Linked DNA regions of Homo sapiens: all the other regions are linked to region 3. Evidence: promoter capture Hi-C in 16 types of primary human blood cells and fetal thymus (Javierre and others, 2016). All regions are on one chromosome and are shown on one strand. Each heading gives the region's core, a stretch centred on a gene start or on the middle of the fragment in contact. The rest is flanking DNA. Distances are from core to core; before and after follow the strand shown.

Region 1 (3,181 bases), core at 634-3,133, 550 kb before region 3:
GAGTTTGAGACCAGCCTAGGCAACATGGCGAAACCCCATCTCTACAAAAGATACAAAAAAATTAACGGGGCATGGTGGCACGTGCCTGCAGTCCCAGCTGCTCAGGCGGCAGAGGTGGAAGGGCCCCTTAAGCCAGGGAGGTCCAGGCTGCAGTAAGCTGTGATTGTGCCACTGCACTCCAGCCTGGGTGATGGAGCAAGACCCTGACCCAAAAAAAAAAAAAATCCTTTCTTTGCTTGGTGAAAATAGCTACAGTAATTATTTTATTATGACTACGTTTAAATTATTTTTATATTTTAAATGACAATAATGGAATTCTAAAAGCTCACTTTTGGCGAGTACCAAAAACTACATCAGAGAAACCTGAACATTATAAAGCTAAACATCAAATTTTAAAAATTAAGTTGAAGGGCCGGGCACAGTGGCTCACACCTGTAATCCCAGCACTTTGGGAGGCCGAAGTGGGCAGATCACTTGAGGTCAGGGGTTCGAGACGAGCCTGGCCAACATGGTGAAACCCCATCTCTACAAAACACACACACACACAAATTAGCTGGGTGTGGTGGCAGGTGCCTGTAATCCCAGCTACTTGGGAGGCTGAGGCAGGAGAATCGCTTGAACCCGGGAGGCAGAGGCTGCAGTGAGCCAAGATTGCACCACTGCACTCCAGCCTGGGCAACTGAGCAAGACTCTGTCTCAAAAAAAAAAAAATTAAGTTGAGAATCAGAAATGTTCCTCGGGCAGGAAGTAAAAATTCTGCAGGGGATCACAAAAATGCTATAGGGTTTGAACAAGCAAAAAAAAAAAAAAAAAAAAAGAACCACACACACACACACACACACACACACACACACACACAGAGTTTGCCTGAACCCTAATTCCTGAGATCACCTGGATACTTATGAAATCAAGCCAAGAGGCTGGCTTAGAAGACGCAAAAAACCCAAGCTTCAGTGAAGAATACAGCCATTGAAATTGGTCATGAAATTAAATTCTGATAAACAAATCTGGGCAAAGACAAAGAGTTTAAGGATACAGACAAGATTCTGTGATGCAAAGAGCCATATAGAATCTTGAAAAAAGGACAGATTTTGCAAGGTCATGATTAGGAAGTAACTTCTAATTCAGAAAATTAGGAACTAGAGCAGGATGCAGTGGGATAGGTAGCTAAACAGTAAGTATAATATACCCAGGGAGGAAGATGGATGACTCATAGCAATTTCCAGACACAACCCAAATCTACCTTATCCACAAAACTGACCTATCTAGCATCCATTCCTCACACAGCTAATATTTTTCACCTTCAAACTTTCACAATCATCTTTCTAGATCCAGGATTTATAAGAATGATCCATGTCTTTAGCTACTGCCTGATGTAAAATATACAAAAAATATAAAAATTAATACAGGACCAGGCACAATGGCTCACACCTGTAATCCCAGCACTTTGGGAGGCCAAGTTGGGCGGATAGCTTGAGCTTAGGCATTCCAGACCAGCCTGGGCAAAATAGCAAGACCCTGTTTCTACAAAAAATACAAAAATTAGCTGGGTGTGGTGGCACATGCCTGTAGTCCCACCTATTCAGGAGGATGAGGTGGAGGATCACTTGAGCCCATGAGGCAGAGGTTGCAGTGTGACAAGATCGCACCACTGCACTCCAGCCTGGGTGCTAGAGCAAGACTCTGCCTCAAAAAAAAAAAAAAAAGAGAAACCCAGAAGTAAAACTGTCAGCCAAGATTAACAATAGAGGCACTGTTTTTCACATAATCTATAATGAAAATTTTTGTGAATTATCTGATGAAGAATAATTTAATCTAGGATTTGGAGTGGCACTTTGAAGAGCTGTGCCTTTCAGAGAATCTCATGACCCTCAGATGAAAAAACTTGCTATAATCTCAATACAGACAATACTCAGTGACTAGACAGGCAGATCCAAACTGTTCCTTCTGTGTTAATGCAATCCAAATGTTGCCAGCAACTCCTTTAGCAATCTATGTTCATTACAAGTACTAAATTCCTTTTCTTAAGCCTGGCTCTACCAATAAGAAAGAACTTTTAAACCAAAACCTTTAATAATTTTCTTTAATTTTCTCTTCCCACAGAATATTAACTAGATAGTGGTGGCATTAGAAATAGAAAGAGATGGCACCAGGAACAGGATGGAATGAGAATACAAGGTGTTAAACAGGAGGGCAGTGAAATAGGAGCGCTTTAGTTCTTGAGGACTACTTAAAATGAGTGAGTTCAAAGAAAATAAGACCCACTTACATTTAAATTTAACAACAAAAAACACATTCCAGAAATATATATTTTTAAGTTATTCAAAATAGTTCCCTTTTCATTAGTACAACTAATTAAGAACTGTTCTAAAACTAAAACTAACTATATTTCTACACCAGAAATGAAATTCTTCTGAAGCACATAATTATCCACAACTATGCTTTTAAAAAATTTTATTGATACAATGGTTATTCCAAGAAAATACACAGAGGACATTTTATTTTGTACTTGGTCATTGGGTACTTTTATCTTAACTAACACAATTTTAATTAAAAAACTATTTCTGAATTTCATTTCTGACTTCAATATTTATACTTAAGTAAAAATGTGTTTTATACCATACCTATCCTTGATCTGTCTGGCAGCCTTGGAGCCAATCAGGGAGAAGAGAAAGAAGGCAAGTTAGTGCTTTTCATGCAAGTTTCAATGGCAGTGACATGCAAGAAAAGTTAGGATATAAACCCTGCAACAGATTAGTTCATATTCACCAAAACACAAACTATAGAAAATTTATGTGTATAGTTCACATAAGCTTTCATGTGATGTTAGAATTATAGTAGAAAATCCAGACCCCACAAAAATCACCTTTTAGGAGGAAAATTTAACACTTCGAACAAATTCCAGGTGACTATAAATGTTTTATTCTTACCTTAAGATTATCAAAACACACCTCCACTTTCATTCAGTCTGATACTCATCAACTAGAGCAACCAATCTCCTTCATGGGACAACTTCCTTCATGGTTTTCTTGTACATGTCAAATTTACTCTCTAATTTTTCTTCAGAGATCTCTTTCACTACTTCATAATCGTTGTTCCAAGTTTTCTCTATATGCCTCTATAGGGCAAGGAATTCTCAGAGTTTGCCTGCTAACAAATACAACTAGGCTGCAATTCTATA
Region 2 (3,622 bases), core at 900-3,399, 530 kb before region 3:
GTCACAGTGGCTCATGCCTGTAATCCCAGCACTTTGGGATGCTGAGGCGGGTGGATCACCAGAGGTCAGAAGTTTGAAACCAGCCTGGCCAACATGGCGAAACCCTGTCTCTACTAAAAAGACAAAAATTAGGCAGGCGTGGTGATGGGCGCCTGTAATCCCAGCTCAGCTATTCGGGAGGCTGAGTCAAGAAAATTGCTTGAACCCGGGAGGTGGAGGTTGCAGTGAGCCGAGATCACACCACTACATTCCAGCCTGGGTGACAGAGCAAGATTCCATCTCAAAAAAAAAAAAAACAAAACTTAAAAAAACTTTCCACCAAAAAAAATTATAAAACATTGGTACCAAAAAAAAGGCAGATACAGTTCAGAGCAAAAAATAAAATCTCCTTAGCATAAAATAGCTTCCCATTTACATATTTTTTTGGTCTAAGTTTAGTAGCAAGCTTTGCATTTCAGAAATTACATAGCAAAAATCTGGAGATAGCTGTAACTTATTGCCCCAACTAGATAAGACCTGAGCTCCCAAGATTTTAATGAGAAGCCTTTTTTTTTTTTTTGAGGCTCTGTCACACAGGTGGGAGTGCAGTGACACAATCGTAGCTCACTGCAGCCTCAACCTCTTGGGCTCAAGCCATATCCACCTGCCTCATTATTTGATTTTTTGTAGAGACGAGGTCTCACTATGTTGCCCAGGCTGGTCTCGAACTTCTGGGCTCCAGCAATCCTCCCACCTCAGCTTCCCAAAGTGTTGGGATTACAGGCATGATCCCTGCTCCCAGCTAAAGCCTACCTTTTTAATGTTCCTGTTTTTTAATGAGTATAGTCAAAGACATCTAAATGCTCTAATTTTGAATCAGATCTTCAAGTTAAAACCTCTGCTCCTTTAAGAGCTACCAACCTGCTGCAAGTTAATAGACTCTGGTCCAATAGTGATGTTAGAGATCAGAAAACAGGCTTTATCAACTGTAACGTTTTCATTCTCCTTAAAGCAGTACTGTCCAATATAAATACAGTAGGAGCCAATAGCAGCCACATCAAAAAAGTAAAGGAAAAACAGGATAAATTAATTTTAATATTTTATTTAATAGATTCAAAATATATTATCATTTCAACATGTAGTCAATATTTAACAATTAATGAGTTTTTCTTTTTTTTTGGTACGGAGTGTTCAAAATTCAGTTTGTATTTTACACTTATGCATATCTCAATTCAAACTGGCCACATTTCAAGTGCTCAAAAACCACATTACGGCTAGAAGCTACCATCCTGGATAATACAGACTTAAGAGGTCTATGTCATCCAAACAGACCATATATTTCTAAGAGTGGAAATAGGGCAGAGATCCTCTATTAATCTTATTAATTTGCAATTAAAAATAAACGACCTAAAAGCTTTCTGAACTTTTTTCTTGGAAGACCAGAATTTCTTTATGTGCTTATGTTATGCCAGATTCTTGAATTATAATAGCTATATGTGGATATAAGTTAAAATGTTACAACCAACTTCCTTTACCAGAATTTCACTCATTTCTCAGTTTTTATTTACATAAATATTAACTCTAGAAGGTGAAAGACATTTTAAAATTACCAACTCTCAAAAGAAATTGGTACATAAGTAACACCACTTCGGGGTCCAATACCATAACAGAAGAAACAAATACACTCCTCTCTCCTGTGAAATTTACACCGTTCACTCATGTTTTGGGTTAGAGAAGACTTCTTGGGATCACAGAAAGTGCAAATGTCCACGTCAAAGTTGGCAGCTAACAAAAACAAGACTGCACCTAAGGACAACTGACATACAGGTTAGACAAATTCAAAGAATCATCAGAATAATGCCTTCCATTTTCTATGATACTATCGCATACCTCCAAAAAAATACCACCCTTAGATTACAGTCAATCTTTTTTTTTTTTTTTTTTTGAGATGGAGTCTCACTCTGTCACCCAGGCTAGAGTGCAGTGGTGCAATCTCGGCTCACTGCAACCTCTGCCTCCTGGGTTCAAGCAATTCTCCTGCCTCAGCCTCTCGAGTAGCTGGGATTACAGGTGCAAGCTACCGTGCCTGGCTAATTTTTTGTATTTTTTGGTAGAGATGGGGTTTCACCATGCTGGCCAGGCTGGTCTCGAACTCCTGACCTTGTGATTCACCCACTTCGGCTTCCCAAGTGCAAGGATTACAGGGATGAGCCACCACTCCCAGCGATTACAGTTAATCTTATCTTTACCATTCCTCTTAAATTCATTCAAAATTCTATTACCACAGATGAAAGACCCTTTTCAACTGTATTGGCCTAAGATGTATTAATAGCCATACTTCTGGAAAGAAACTCTACAATCTGTGTTAAAGCCTTTAGGGGAATGATATCCTATATGAATTGCCTAAGGCTGTAAAAATACTGTACTTCCCCAGAAAGTGGATGAGAAAGAAAGGTCTTTAAAGGCTGATATAGTATTTCTGAGAAACACAGTCTCATTCTTTGAAGAGAGAGCACTCTACAGCTCTTGAATTTAACAAGGAGTTCCAGTACAGCATGAGAGTCTGTAATACACACCTAGATAAAGGGTCCACATTCTGAGAAAAGTTGCTTTACCCTAATGCCAAAACTGCAAAGACTAAAGGCCTAGATTATTTTCAGAGGACGCACTGCAATCTTTAGATGAGGAGGGCTTCAGAGCCTTGGCTACAATACACCACTGAGATGCTATCAGAATGGACAAGCCAGCTGTAGAGGACTCTGGAACCCCAGCATTTAAGATCATCTATATTTTCAAAGCTACCGAATACATTAGTAAACCTGGCTGCAGAAAAAGCAACCATTCAGATCATAAAGAGAAAGTCATAGCAACCAATGTGACCTTGTTAGCTAATACAGATAAAATGCTGCCTCTCTGCTAAGCTTTTCTAAGCTTAAAGGAGGAAGGAAATATTCGCAAAGTTCCCCAAGGGCAGACTACTGAGACAAAGGCTCCAGAAGCTCTGATCCACTTGCCCTTTAATCTGCAACTGCTGTAGAGAGGATGAGCAAATGAAAAAGACTGTAATCCAAGGCTCATATTTAGCATTCTAAAATAGTAAGTTTATCAGGGAGAGGGCCAAGGCTTCAACCTTTCTGACCCTCACAAGAATGGGGACTGGCTGGAACTAAGTGGAAATGGCATAAAGATAAAAAGCACTAAGGAACTTGGTGCTCAGTAGAACTGGAAAACAAGTTACAAGGAATCAGAATATTTAAGACAAAACTACCACCACAGCACCAAAACATATGAAAACTAAAGAAACAGGATTACATGTGCTGAGTTCTGAAACTTGACCCTAGCTTGCATATGTGACATAAAGCTAAAATTTTCTCTATGGTGGTAGGAGTCAAGTAAAAGGTGTATATAAGGATAGTATGTGCCTAATCTAGGAGGTATACAAGGGGAGACTGGCTGAACAGGCATCAAATCCAGCAGTTTTTAAAAAGTGTTTTCTAGATATGGTAGGCAATATGCCAGGGCAGAGAAAGAGAGCAGAAAAGATCTAAAATATATCATAATTCAACGAGTTTTCTACCCCAGTCTATCCCTCCAGGACCTCCAAATTTAATCAAGAGCGAAGACAGAAAGCTAGGCCATCATC
Region 3 (3,359 bases), core at 575-3,074:
CCTGCCTCAGCCTCCTGAGATAACAGGCGCTCGCCACCACATCTGGCTAATTTTTGTATTTTTAGTAAAGACTGGGTTTCATCATGTTGGCCAGGTTGGTTTCGAACTCCTGACCTGAGGTGAGCTGCCCACCTTGGCCTCCCAAAGTGCTGGGATTACAGGCATGAGCCACTGCGCCCAGCTCAGATCCATCCCTTTCTAAGGGCAAACAGTCCATGGTGCAAAGGGGCCATGCCACCCAGAGTTATGAGTACCTGGGACTCCAGAATTCCTTGCCTGGTGGCCTCCACATGCACTTCCAGGGCCTGCTTGGGCCTCTTCTATGGGTCTGTCCTGAGTGTTGATAGAACCACTGATGTGAGTACCTGGGCTTGAGCCGTGGCCTGGAGATCCTGTTGACTGTAGCATGGAGGGGGCTTGTGCAGCTGAATGTCTGTATGCAGGTGGTGGGAGTTCTGGAATATGATGGAGCTGGAGGTGGGAAGAGAAGTAGGCTTGGGGCAGCTCTCTCATGCCACCTCATTCTGGCCAAAACTCAGGTCAAACTGTGAAGAGTCTAAATGTGAATCTGCCCTTCAAGGTGGCTACAAAGGTATCTTTGTCAAGGTAGGAGACCTTGTGGCCTCCACGTGCACTTCCAGGGCCTGCTTGGGCCTCTTCTACGGGTCTGTCCTGAGTCTTCTATGAATCTGCCCTTCAGGGCAGATTCATATTTAGACTCTTCACAGTTTGACCTGAGTTTTGGCCAGAATAAGGTGACATTTAGTTTGTTGGCTTGATGGATGACTTAAATATTTAGACATATGGTGTGTAGGCCTGCATTCCTACTCTTGCCTTTTTTTTTGCCCCTCCAGTGTTTTGGGTAGTTTTGCTCCCCTACAGCCAAAGGCAAACAGATAAGTTGGAGGTCTGGAGTGGCTACATAATTTTACACGACTGCAATTCTCTGGCTGCACTTCACAAATGTATACAAACTAAATACAAGTCCTGTGTTTTTATCACAGGGAGGCTGATCAATATAATGAAATTAAAAGGGGGCTGGTCCATATTGTTCTGTGTTTTTGTTTGTTTGTTTCTTTTTTTGTTTTTGTGGCCTCCTTCCTCTCAATTTATGAAGAGAAGCAGTAAGATGTTCCTCTCGGGTCCTCTGAGGGACCTGGGGAGCTCAGGCTGGGAATCTCCAAGGCAGTAGGTCGCCTATCAAAAATCAAAGTCCAGGTTTGTGGGGGGAAAACAAAAGCAGCCCATTACCCAGAGGACTGTCCGCCTTCCCCTCACCCCAGCCTAGGCCTTTGAAAGGAAACAAAAGACAAGACAAAATGATTGGCGTCCTGAGGGAGATTCAGCCTAGAGCTCTCTCTCCCCCAATCCCTCCCTCCGGCTGAGGAAACTAACAAAGGAAAAAAAAATTGCGGAAAGCAGGATTTAGAGGAAGCAAATTCCACTGGTGCCCTTGGCTGCCGGGAACGTGGACTAGAGAGTCTGCGGCGCAGCCCCGAGCCCAGCGCTTCCCGCGCGTCTTAGGCCGGCGGGCCCGGGCGGGGGAAGGGGACGCAGACCGCGGACCCTAAGACACCTGCTGTACCCTCCACCCCCACCCCACCCACCTCCCCCCAACTCCCTAGATGTGTCGTGGGCGGCTGAACGTCGCCCGTTTAAGGGGCGGGCCCCGGCTCCACGTGCTTTCTGCTGAGTGACTGAACTACATAAACAGAGGCCGGGAACGGGGCGGGGAGGAGGGAGAGCACAGGCTTTGACCGATAGTAACCTCTGCGCTCGGTGCAGCCGAATCTATAAAAGGAACTAGTCCCGGCAAAAACCCCGTAATTGCGAGCGAGAGTGAGTGGGGCCGGGACCCGCAGAGCCGAGCCGACCCTTCTCTCCCGGGCTGCGGCAGGGCAGGGCGGGGAGCTCCGCGCACCAACAGAGCCGGTTCTCAGGGCGCTTTGCTCCTTGTTTTTTCCCCGGTTCTGTTTTCTCCCCTTCTCCGGAAGGCTTGTCAAGGGGTAGGAGAAAGAGACGCAAACACAAAAGTGGAAAACAGGTAAGAGGCTCTCCAGTGACTTACTTGGGCGTTATTGTTTTGTTTCGAGGCCAAGGAGGCTTCGGGAAGTGCTCGGTTTCGGGGACTTTGATCCGGAGCCCCACATCCCCACCACTTGCAACTCAGATGGGACCGGAGGCGGTGTTAAATGGGGAGACGATGTCCTAGTACGAGCTCTGGTGACCCCAGGACTCTGCGCTGCTGCGCTTGGGGCTTGCCCGACGGTGGAGACCGGGGAGCATCTCTGGGCGTGGAGACCCGGGCGCAGTACCCCGGGCTCAGAGGGGTCGGGGGTTCCCGGGCGTGCTGAGGGCGCTGCTGCCGGGTGGGGAGAGCTGCAGGTCCGGCACCGAGCGCTGCTTTGTTCGGAGGGCCCTGAGCTGGCTAGAAACCCTTCTGGTTGCAGGTCGGCCAGTACCTACGGAGACAAATGCCAGCACTGAGTCTTCACTCGGTTCTTAAGAAGCTGGTCTGTTCTGACCTGGGAATTGGCTATATGCTCCCCGGGACTGGAGCGGCACAGTCCCGGACTGTGAATCCGGGAACTCGAGTTGGAGGTGTCCCAAACGGTCCGTGGTGCTATTGCTCACTAGAGGCCTTGGGTCTTTGTTTGACCTGAGGGGTAGGGAGGTCCTGCCTACAGTCTCCGTGCGCTCAGCTGAGCTGGTGTCCCTGGCGCAGAGCGCGGACGAGTTTTGTTTCCTTTTCTTTTTCTTTTTTTTCTTTCCTTTAAGTCTCGGTCTGTCGCCCAGGCTGGAGTGCAATGGAACGATCTCCGCTCACTGCAACCTCCGCCTCCCGGGTTCAAGCGATTCTCCTGCCTCAGCCTCCTGAGTAGCTGGGATTACAGGCGCGTCACCACATCCAGCTAATTTTTGTATTTTTAGTAGAGACGGGGTTTCAACTTGTTGGCCAGGCTGGTCTCGAACCCTCGACCTCAGGTGATCCACCGGCCTCGGCCTCCCCAAGTGCTGGGATTATAGGCGTGAGCCACCGCGCGCGGCCGAGTTTTGTTTCTTTTAAAAACAAGACTTAGGAGAGCCTGCGGAGACCCGGAGGTGGGGTGCCCAATCCTCCCTCTCCCACGTTCCCTGCAGCCCCATCTTCCAGACCGTTGCTGCTGGTCTCTCGGGGCAGCTTCTGCCTGGGCGCAGATGGGGAAGCTGGGCCGAGGTGGTGCCGTGGAATGACCGGGAGTAACCCCGGCGGGCGGCGCAGAACTCGGAGCTCCGCCGCGGGGCTGGGCTGGGCTCTGCCGTGAGGGTGGGGGTGCTGGGCGCGCGGGCTGCGGTGGCCCCCGGAGACTGGCCCGCAG
Region 4 (3,217 bases), core at 642-3,141, 580 kb before region 3:
AAACTGAGGCCGTGATGGCAGAACAAGGAAACTGGCCCAGCTGATAGATAATTTACATGACGAAGAGTACAGAGGGAAAAGAACCACATAAATTTAAAAAAAAACCATAAAACTATGACTTCCAGATTATTTAATATTTTGAGGAATTAACTATACTTTTCACAAGACTTACTCAGAACTGCTTTAGGAATTTAGGAAATCAGTGAAGCAAGGTATAAGCTTCTTTCCTTGGAAACTGAGGGTAAATCATTAGAATGTACTGATTCATGGCTAATCACACCATTCCTTTTATCTTAAAATATAACTCTCGGAATCTCTATCTTGCAAGGTATCAGCTATTACACAGTTACTAACTAATCTGCCTGTTAGTTCTATTTCCCTCCAAAGGTTCAAACTTCTAGTATATATTAAGAAATACAGTATCCCTTTACAGAACCCTATTTCACTTATGGATATTACTTAATTTAGCTAAGGCTTCAGTGTGTCTGTGAACTATGACTCTCTATAGGTTTATTTTGTTTGATGATACATAACTGTTTACCTAATGAATCAATAATCCTTTTATCCCCTACTGTTCTGTAAAGAGCACTTTAATTTCAACTATGCATTGGAGCTATTGTTCATTGTTTTTTATTTATGAAACAACATTCTGAATACAAATCTACTGACCACAGAGCTTCCAGTAAATGTCATACAGTACAAGGAAGTTCACAGCTTTCAACATCTGCATTTAAACAGAAATGAACTTACAGAAAAAAGAGATAATGCAGCAATCATGCAGCTTTTTAGTAAAAACAGAAATAGAATTCCTTAATAGACAGGTTACCAAAAGGTTAGGATTAAGTAAAACTTATACCCTGCATTTCCAAGAATGAACTGCCTTAATAAAGTTAACATCTATATGTGAGCTACTAGGTAATGCATGTGAGAGCTTCTACATTTTTGAGAAAGAATATTGGATTTAACTCTAAGGTGCCACCAATTCTCAACTGCTTGCTAAAATCCTAAGGCTGTTTTTTTAAAAAAGGAAGAAATCCTAAGGCTGTCCCCTAATGTTTGTTATGCTGGAGAGAAGGGCCACCAGCAATACTGGTGTCAAAGGTGGCAAAAAAAAAAAATAGATAGTACCATTGAAAACCACTTAAGACCATACTTATTAAATACTGCAGCATCCAAACAAAAAGGCATGGATTTCAAGCCTAAGGAGTGTCATTTTCGTATCTCTCTTTCTTTGTGGACACTACCCCTTATGGACCTCAGTTAAGTTATAGAGCTCCTCTAATGTAACAGAGATAATACTCTATAGTTAAAAAAAAAAAAAAGACTAGCCTCAAAAGTGAGGTCCTATCTCTTGTATAAGTCCTATAATATAACTAGATACTGGTTCCCGTATCTTTAATAGTCTGTGAAAACAAAGTACCAAAAATCAGAGTACAGATATGTTTCATATGTTTAACTTGTGCGAGTGGCTGCTTTCTTGGTACTATAAAATTATATCATAGCTGCTATCAATTAAAGTTGGAGAATAATTTGTGATTTAGTAATTTAATATCATTTACCTTCACAAGAAAATAACTAATAATATACTCTAAATATTCTGGTGATAAGAACTTATATTACTCATGACTTCTGAGAATTTCAATGCCAGAAGAAATAGTGCTTCATATGTTGGAGGGCAGAAGTAAACAATGTTCACTATTTTCCATATCAAGAACCTTAAGTGGAAGTATATGAAATTTTGGTAGGCTCAACTACTCAATCTCCACCTTTCTTCCTTTCTCTCCAGTTTTTTGTCCATACCCTAATTTCTACTGGTTGGTTGAAAAAGGCTGCAACAAGCCAAATAAATTGGTAAACAACTGTTCAGTGTGTCATTGGTAAAAATGTGGACTTTTCCTCTGCAGCTCTTACTCTCATTAGTAGCCCCACTAATGCTATGGAATAACCCTAGAAAATCTGTGACTCATGGCCATGTAGGAGTCTAACTTTATTCTGGAACTCCCTGAAGGTCAGAATCACTGTTTTGTGGGTCTCAGAGTTGAGTTTCAGTCTATTCCTACCGCAGAGGGTTTACTCAACAGTGAAGAAGTGCTGAAAAGGCCTAGAATCAACTTAGTTTCTCTCTACAAACCCCATGATTAAGAGTTTGACCAGTAACATCCAATCACTGCTAATAGGAGCAGCCAGCCCAGCTGGAAGAAAACCACAAGCCAGTGATTCATTTTCCTGTATCTATGAAATTTGCATAGAAATTATAATTCACCACATTTAGGTCCAACTTTGGTCATTAAATATGAACAGTAAATGAAAAGAAACAAAAGAAATTTTAAAAATATGATGCTCTTGAGGAAGAATAATAGTAATGAATTTTACTTGATGGGCTAAAAACAGTTCAAGTTATATAGAAAAGATTATCTGCCTACATATGACTATTATTTTAAAATGGTAAAAACCTCTACAGAAACCACAATAACATCTCAGTTTGATAACATGTAATACAGAGTTAACTGCATTCCTTGGCTAAGTTACCTATAGTTCTCAAATAGAAACATCTGCTAATCCAAACAAATTACTTCAAGATAGACTTTATTTCAGACCTTTGTGATGCAAACATTTTTCTGAGTTTGTCTCATCAATAACTTATAGGCCTTATATTTTGTTTTATTATATGATTTTTTTTGTCATCCTCCAAATCCAATCAAATTTCTGGCAGGTAAACCTATTCAAATGCTATATGAACTAGAGGTCAGTGGAATGCCTTAAGTCCCAAGTGCCTACAAGAATGTGTAGAGTCTGGTTCTGGAATTAAACCCAGTCAATAACCATCTCACAACTAGGAAAGTCTCCAGCATTATAACCTTCAAATTGGTAAATATCTAAAAAATCCTCTGTATTCAAGTCTGCTACTCTAGGGAGTTTTCATTAAACCCCAATTGCTTTCAGAGACTAGAAGAACCTAGGTTCCAGGCTCATAGTAAGGGCTGGCACAAAACTCAGAAGTGGATTCTTATTCACACCTTTCCAAACTAGGTCTAGGGATCATGGGAAAGTCATTTAATATATGAAAACTCTATTTTTTCATCTGCAATATGGGTATCAATAATATCTAGCATATTGATCTCTCAAGATGACTTTAATTATCTAATAAAGAATTGAAAGTGTTTTGTAACCATTAATAAACTATATAAACGTTAACTGTTGCAATAAGATACAGGAA

The links. The method cuts DNA at HindIII sites, captures the fragments that hold promoters and counts their contacts. A CHiCAGO score of 5 or more calls a contact.
Region 1: a fragment that was not itself captured here is called in contact with the fragment with the promoter of ABCA1 in region 3 in 1 of 17 cell types (M0 macrophages); the score reaches 5.8 in M0 macrophages.
Region 2: a fragment that was not itself captured here is called in contact with the fragment with the promoter of ABCA1 in region 3 in 1 of 17 cell types (M0 macrophages); the score reaches 6.4 in M0 macrophages.
Region 4: a contact is called between a fragment that was not itself captured here and the fragment with the promoter of ABCA1 in region 3, in 1 of 17 cell types (M1 macrophages). The highest score is 5.6, in M1 macrophages.

Annotation. Positions count from the first base shown.
Region 1 is chr9:105,478,820-105,482,000 of GRCh38, reverse strand. FSD1L (fibronectin type III and SPRY domain containing 1 like) reads right to left here. Exons shown (of 14, transcript NM_001145313.3): 6 at 2,625-2,647. Among named protein-coding and RNA genes, the nearest start is that of FSD1L, 32 kb to the right of the region's middle. The HindIII fragment of the contact is 1,865 bases long and covers 951-2,815 here.
Region 2 is chr9:105,458,894-105,462,515 of GRCh38, reverse strand. It overlaps FSD1L (fibronectin type III and SPRY domain containing 1 like), which reads right to left. Exons shown (of 14, transcript NM_001145313.3): 2 at 901-996. Among named protein-coding and RNA genes, the nearest start is that of FSD1L, 13 kb to the right of the region's middle. The HindIII fragment of the contact is 1,507 bases long and covers 1,396-2,902 here.
Region 3 is chr9:104,926,620-104,929,978 of GRCh38, reverse strand. It overlaps ABCA1 (ATP binding cassette subfamily A member 1), which reads left to right and starts at 1,824. Exons shown (of 50, transcript NM_005502.4): 1 at 1,824-2,044. LOC105376196 (a long non-coding RNA gene) reads right to left here and starts at 3,190. Exons shown (of 3, transcript NR_188620.1): 1 at 2,069-3,190; 2 at 255-471. RefSeq lists silencers at 1,665-1,854, 3,191-3,359 and enhancers at 2,055-2,134, 2,455-2,514. The HindIII fragment of the contact is 9,744 bases long and covers 1-3,359 here.
Region 4 is chr9:105,509,094-105,512,310 of GRCh38, reverse strand. The region is part of intron 9 of FSD1L (fibronectin type III and SPRY domain containing 1 like); the gene reads right to left. Among named protein-coding and RNA genes, the nearest start is that of FKTN, 47 kb to the left of the region's middle. The HindIII fragment of the contact is 3,339 bases long and covers 222-3,217 here.